Regions from separate parts of the Homo sapiens genome. Here region 1 is linked to region 2. Evidence: promoter capture Hi-C in 16 types of primary human blood cells and fetal thymus (Javierre and others, 2016). All regions are on one chromosome and are shown on one strand. Each heading gives the region's core, a stretch centred on a gene start or on the middle of the fragment in contact. The rest is flanking DNA. Distances are from core to core; before and after follow the strand shown.

Evidence for each region. The method cuts DNA at HindIII sites, captures the fragments that hold promoters and counts their contacts. A CHiCAGO score of 5 or more calls a contact.
Region 1: a fragment that was not itself captured here is called in contact with the fragment with the promoter of ZDHHC3 in region 2 in 1 of 17 cell types (fetal thymus); the score reaches 5.3 in fetal thymus.

What each region holds. Positions count from the first base shown.
Region 1 is chr3:45,695,127-45,698,649 of GRCh38, forward strand. All of the region lies in intron 1 of SACM1L (SAC1 like phosphatidylinositide phosphatase), which reads left to right. Among named protein-coding and RNA genes, the nearest start is that of SACM1L, 7.5 kb to the left of the region's middle. The HindIII fragment of the contact is 5,170 bases long and covers 1-3,523 here.
Region 2 is chr3:44,974,865-44,978,020 of GRCh38, forward strand. ZDHHC3 (zDHHC palmitoyltransferase 3) reads right to left here and starts at 1,310. Exons shown (of 7, transcript NM_001135179.2): 1 at 1,069-1,310. EXOSC7 (exosome component 7) reads left to right here and starts at 1,380. Exons shown (of 8, transcript NM_015004.4): 1 at 1,380-1,470. The coding sequence starts at 1,414. RefSeq lists an enhancer at 290-834 and silencers at 1,057-1,156, 1,277-1,346. The HindIII fragment of the contact is 4,817 bases long and covers 1-1,707 here.

The DNA.
Region 1 (3,523 bases), core at 181-2,680, 720 kb after region 2:
CCTATGAGTGTAGTATGTGCAGGGGATCCTTCTTTACTAAGTTGTTTTCTTTTTGCTCACCAAACCTAGTAAAGTGTTGTGCCTCTGTCTTTTCAACCAGAGATGTATTAAATTTGATCATTAAGACCTTGATTTAATTCTTTTTTTTTTTTGAGATGGGGTCTCACTCTGTTGCCCAGGCTGGAGTGCAGTGGCGCAGTCTCGGCTCACCACAACCACCACCTCCCAGGTTCAAGTGATTCTTGTGCCTCAGCCTCCCTTGTAGCTGGGACTACAGGCATGCACCACCAGGCCCGGCTAATTTTTGTATTGTTAGTAGAGACAGAGTTTCACCATGTTGGCCAGGCTGGTCTTGATCTCCTGACCTCAAGTGATCCACCTGCCTCGGCCTCCCAAAGTGTTGGGATTACAGGCATGAGCCACTGCACCCAGCCAAATTCTTTACGTAAGATTTTTGAGGGAATATGTTCTTGCTACAGTTTTATGACATATCACTGTGGCTCCTATGCAAAATAGTGGTTTCATTATTTTTAAAAATTGTGGTAAAATAAAACATTAAATTTACCATCTCAACCATTTTTAAGTATACAGTTCAGGGGCAATAAGCACATTCATGTTGTACAACCGTTATCACCATCCATCACCAGAACCGTTTTCATCTTGCAAAAATAAACTCTGTACCCATTAAACAACTCCCCATTTCTGTATCCTCCCAGCCCCTGGCAACCACCGTTCTACTTTCTGTCTCTATAAATTTGACTTCTCTAGATGCCTCATGAAGTGGCAGTATTTGTCCTTTTATGACTGGTTTATTTCACTTAGCATAATGTCCTTAAGGTTCATCCATTGTGTAGCATGTGTCAGAATTTCCTTTTTTTTTTTTTTTTTTGAGATGGAGTCTCGCTCTGTTGCCTATGCTGGAGTACAGTGGTGCGATCTCGGCCCACTGCAACCTCTGCCTCCTGGGTTCAAGCAATTCTCCTGCCTTAGCCTCCTAAGTAGCTGGGATTTCAGGTGCCTGCCACCACGCCCAGCTACTGTTTTGTATTTTTAGTAGAGACAAGGTTTCACTGCATTTGCCAGGATGGTCTCCATCTCCTGACCTCGTGATCCGCCTGCCTCGTCCTCCCTGAGTGTTGGGATTCCAGGCCTGAGCCACTGTGCCTGGCCCAGAATTTCCTTTCTAAGGCTGAATAATATTCCATTATATGTATGTACCACATTTCGTTTGTTCATTTGTTAATAGACACATAGGTGGCTTCCACCTTTTTGGCTATTGTGAGTAATGCCAGTATGAATGTGAGTATACAAATACCTTTTTGAAACCCTACTTTCAGTTATTTTGAGTATATACCCGGAAGTGGAATTGTTGGGTCATATGGGAATTCTATTTTTAATTTTTAATGGGCCACCATACTGTTTTCCCATAGTGGCTGCACCGTTTTACATTCCCACCCACAAAGCACCAGGATTCCAGTGTCTCCGCATCCTAGCCAACACTCGTTATTTTCTATCCTGGGTTTGTTTTTTTTTTCCTTCTAGATAATAGCCATTTTAATGGGTATGAGGTTGGTAAGTAGTAATGTTTTTGTAGTGGGCCAGTTTTACTCATTGATTTGACAGGATTTTAAAGAGATCAGTTGTCTGAAATAAGACGTGAATGTTACATGAGAGATAAATGTTTTCAGACACTAGAAAATCGCAATGCCAACACTGAAAGAAAATAAAAATATTTGATGTTAATATTATAATTAAAGATATTGCTTTTCTTAAAATTTAACAAGACTAATTTTTTAAAAAACACTCTTAAGAGCTGTTGAATCCCAGGTGACTATAAGATTAAATGCATTTGTATTAAGTGTAATACCAGAACTGCCTTTGTTGCATTTAGCTTTTAGTCCCAGTTCCACTTCTGGGATACTCAAAATAATTAAAAGTAAGGTCTCAAAGAGGGATTTGTATACCCCTGTTCATAGCAGCATTATTCACAACAGTCAAAAAGGAGGAAGCAACCTAAGTGTTGATTCTTTCTTTTTTTTTTATTTCAACATTTTTTGTAGAGATGAGATCTCGCTGTGTTGACCAGGCTGGTCTCAAACTCCTGGCCTCAAGATCCTCCTGCTTTGTTTTTCTTTTCTTTTCCTTTTTTTTTTTTTTTTTTTTTTTTTAAGACAGGCTCTTGCTCTGTTGCCCAGGCTGGAGTGTAGTGGTGCGATCTTGGCTCAGAGCAGCCTCTGCCTCCCAGGTTGAAGTGATCCTCCGACCTCAGCCTCCTGAATAGCTGAGGCCACAGGTGCATACCACCACACCTGGCTAATTTTTGCATTTTTTGTAGAAACGGGGTTTTGCCATGTTGCCCAGGCTGGTCTCAAACTCCTGGGCTCAAGCAGTCCTCCTGCCTCAGCCTCCCAAAGTGCTAGGATTACAGGCATGAGCACTGTATCCAACCACTTTTTCTTTTTTATGCCATGCTTGGACAGTAATCCTTAAAAGCAAAATGACGAACTGAATGAAGGTAGTCAAAATAGGAGCAATTATTATACAAGTATTATGCTATTTTGATATATCTTCCATAGTATGTGTCTTATTAATGGGAACCAGAACTCTGGGTAGGTATGGGATCCCCTTGTCTTGACAGATATTTGGTAGGATTCTTGTTCAGTTAGAGTTAATAGTGAATTGGAGGCTAATCACCTCACCAGATAGTTTATATAGGACCAGAACCCTTTTTAGTATACAGTATTACTTTGAACCTTAGAGATCTGTTATCAACAGTATAGATAATGACCAAATAATCTTCTTGGATCGAATCTTGTCTTCCGAAATCCATTTCATAAAATAAGTAATATGATAGCTTGTTTGGTAAAGATTTAAACACAAAAATAGCAATAAAACAATACACACCAGGAAAAATTATACCACTGAATGTTTACTTAATTGTTTTTGACGGTTTAAATGCTAGAGAGTTAAAGTTAATTTCACTGGCTTTTGAAATGAAGCCCAGGAAGCATAAAACATAGAATAAAATTTATTACATAAAACAATTATGCTTCAGATCAGTATTAAGACCAATACAAAAGTGGTGGGAAATGAGAGGAAGAGAACAGTAAGGGCATATATGTAGGTGCCGTGAGTTAGGATGATACCTGCTGTTATGGTTAACAGAATTGTGAGTCATTACTTCTAATGAGCATCCCTAGAAATGTTGATTCCCTGGCAGTCACTGTTCACATTTTCATTGCTCCAATTCTTAAGCCTAGAGATACCACTTTCAGTGACATTATCAGAATAGCCTGATGGCAGCATCAGCAATTTAGATTCCAACAGCATCTCTCAGAGAGAGAAGATCAAGCAAAGGCCTCAGGACTTTTGAGCGAGACATCTCTACCTTGATCCATAATTACTCTTATTTGTATACTTTGTTATAATACTTTTTTTTTTGAGACAAAGTCTCGCTCTTGTGCCCCAGGCTGGAGTGCGATGGCGCAATCTCTGCTCACTGCAACCTCCGCCTCCCAGGTTC
Region 2 (3,156 bases), core at 60-2,559:
GACCATCATAGCTCTAACCACCATGATCTGTGGTTATGTTGGCCCTGGAGCCTTCATCTGCCCAGGGAACTTCTCTGGGCATAGTATGTTTTACTTGTCTTGTGTTCTAAAGGTAGCACAAAGCCTATCTATAGTAGGCTCCCAATAGTTATCTGAAACTGTATTTGAACCCACTATCTGATAAATACCATTTTTTTTTTTTTTTGGCTGAGGGTCCTCAAAAATGGAACATCAGGAAAGTCATCAGAATTGCTTTAACCTGCCCTCCTTGCTTCAACTAATTTGGGTTAACTTTCTCCCATTTATCCACACGGCTCCTTTAAAACTTGCACCATACTTTGTCAGCCCCGCCTTAATGAGTTCCTTTGGTGACCCCAGCTTCACCTTGCAGATATCCTCTCCGGGTATCCAATGCCCATACTCCCACTCGGCCATCGCAAGGGGTTGGGGTTGGCTTTTTTTCGGGCAACTGCTCACAGCTCCCAGTAATCACTTCCATCAAGCCGGGGTTTCCAGTTCCCGCTAGGAAGCGTTGGGGACGTCCGGGCACTGCGCACCTCGCCAGTGCCGGTTACCAAGCGCCTCCTCCCCCGTCTGTGGGACAACGCTCTGGTAAGCACCCGAGGCAAGAGGTCCCAGCAAGGTAATGGGACAGCGTTCGGTCACAGAGAGTGAGCGAGCCAGCGAGAGATATTCCTGGGTGGAGGGGTGGGGACGCCTTAGGACTAGTGTCCCCCATTCCCGGACCCTTCCCACCAAGAACTACCTAGGGAGGGCTGCATCGCCTCTCCAGCCATCCTAGGGACTAGAGAAATGGAGGGGAGAAGAGCAGGGAAACAGCACCCCCGGGCCAATCACGACGTCCGCCCCTCCTTAGTCGGGGTCTCTCTCTCTCTCTCTCTCTCTCTCACACACACACACACACACACACACACACACACGCTCCTAAGTCAACTCCAGCTCTGAGCAACTACGCCGCACGCCTCTCCCACTGGGAGTCCCCCGGCCCGTGAGGCTCGCCTCACCCCAGCTTCTTCACCCCTACCCCAGTTTCCCTTCCCAACTGACCGTGAAGCCGGAGGCAGTTCCCCAGTCCCAGACCCCGGTGGGGCTCCCGCCGCCGCCGCCGCTGCCTTCCCCTGCAGTCCCCAACCCGGGACCCGGCCTCGGGCTTCGGCGATGGCTCCTCGGAACGAGGCGCCGCGGCTCTCTGGACTCGGCCAGACACCGGGCGGCGCGCAGGAGAAGCCCATCGAGCTCTCCCGGCAGTGGCGGCGGCCGCGGCTGCAGGAGCGGCCGCCGCGCAGGTTGATGACGCGCTGACGCGGGGCGGGGGGGGGTGGGACGTGGGGGCGCGGTCCAGAGGAGGGGACGCGCGCAGATGACGTGCGGCTCGTGGGGCAGCTCGGCAGCATGGCGTCCGTGACGCTGAGCGAGGCGGAGAAGGTGTACATCGTGCATGGCGTCCAGGTAGCTACAGCAGCGGCGTTGGGTCGGCCGCCGGGTTCAGCCTGGCCCTGCGGGTCGCGGCCTGCCCTGGGTTTGCCAGTGAGGAGGCAGCCGAGCTGCGGCGACTCTCCGTTTACCTTGTGATTAAACGGTTCTGCTGCCGGCGTTTGCAATTCAGAGCTGGCAACGTGGACGTTTTTAGGACTGTTAGCGCATTTGCAGTTTTGCGGGTCTATAAGATTCCGAACCCGGGCAGGAAGCTTGGGCAGTCTCGGAGGCCTTTTCTTAGTGAGAGAGCATCGGCCCCAGGGCCATCCATTCGGCGTTCGCGCACAGATCTTGTCCGAGCCTCAGTTTTCTCTTCGAGGAAATGGGAGTTTGGAGGTGGGCTTCTGGCCTGCTTTTCCTCACCTCGTGGTTAGGAGGGCGCATGCGAGGTGAACGCACTTTGAAAATACAAATTGCCGTACAAATAAAGGGGGAAGGGTTTTTAAAAAGCGGCTAGGACGCCTGTAATCCCAGCACTTTGGGAGGCCGAGGCGGGCGGATCACGAGGTCAAGAGACCGTCCTGACCAACATGGTGAAACCCCGTCTCTGCTAAAAATACAAAAAAATTTAGCTGGGCGTGGTGGCGCACGCCTGTAGTCCCAGCTACTCGGGAGACTGAGGCAGGAGAATCGCTTGAACCCGGGAGGCGGAGGTTGCAGTGAGCCGAGTCTCAAAAAAAAAGCGGCTAGGCAGCCGATAGCCTAAGTGCTGTTTCCATTTTGCCAATGAAGAACTAAGATCCCTAGGCAGCTATAACCTAATGTCCTCTGTGTTCTATATTAAATCCCTGGTTATGACCACTCCAGAACGAGGGTTGAAAAATGTTGGACCTGGTAACGAGCTACCCTGTATCCTCCTCCGGCTGTGTCTCCACTTGTTAACCTACGGTGTGGTCCTCCTATCAGAGTTCTTCATCCCATCCTTGGCAGAGTTCTGGCGACAGCTCCTACCTCTTTTCCTCATGCCTTTCCTCTGTCAGTACCAACTGCAAAGTCAGTGGTCCCGTGATGTAGCCATCGGATTGAAGCGGCCAGCTATCATTGAAGTCCCACAACGTGAGTTAAGGACATGTCCATTTAAAAATCGTGACCTGCCGTTATCTTCTGGGCCCTTTATATATGAAGAAATGCCAATATTTAGCATATTATGCCTGGATAATAAAGTCAGAACTCACAGTTGCATATTTTAGTTATAATTCAGGATTAACAACAGTGGGACATATGTGTGTATTACAGGGTAACATGTATGTTATTTGTGTGTGAGGGGGCATAAAAATGCCCAAAAGCAGTTAGATATGTCTTTCCCTGCTATATTTTTGTATACACTTTGTTCAGGTGATTTTTATCCTCAAAGTATTTTTTTAGGGACACATTACGGATAACCGTTTTCCTCTAAATTTAAAAACCTTTGGTCTTCTTTGTTACCGGAGCTTACCATGATGTAGTGACTCTGTCATGTGTCCTATTTTCTCTCAACATTTCATCCCTGAAAGTGGCACTGAGGCATGGATATATCTGTAACCTCAAGGTTAGAGCTTTCTCCCCAGCACCCTTAATTCCCACGGCAGTTCATTAGCTATCCAGCAGCAGAGTCCCACCATGGTCATTAGTTAATTTTATTTACCAACATATATCTAGCTCCTGGCATGTTATGTGGGA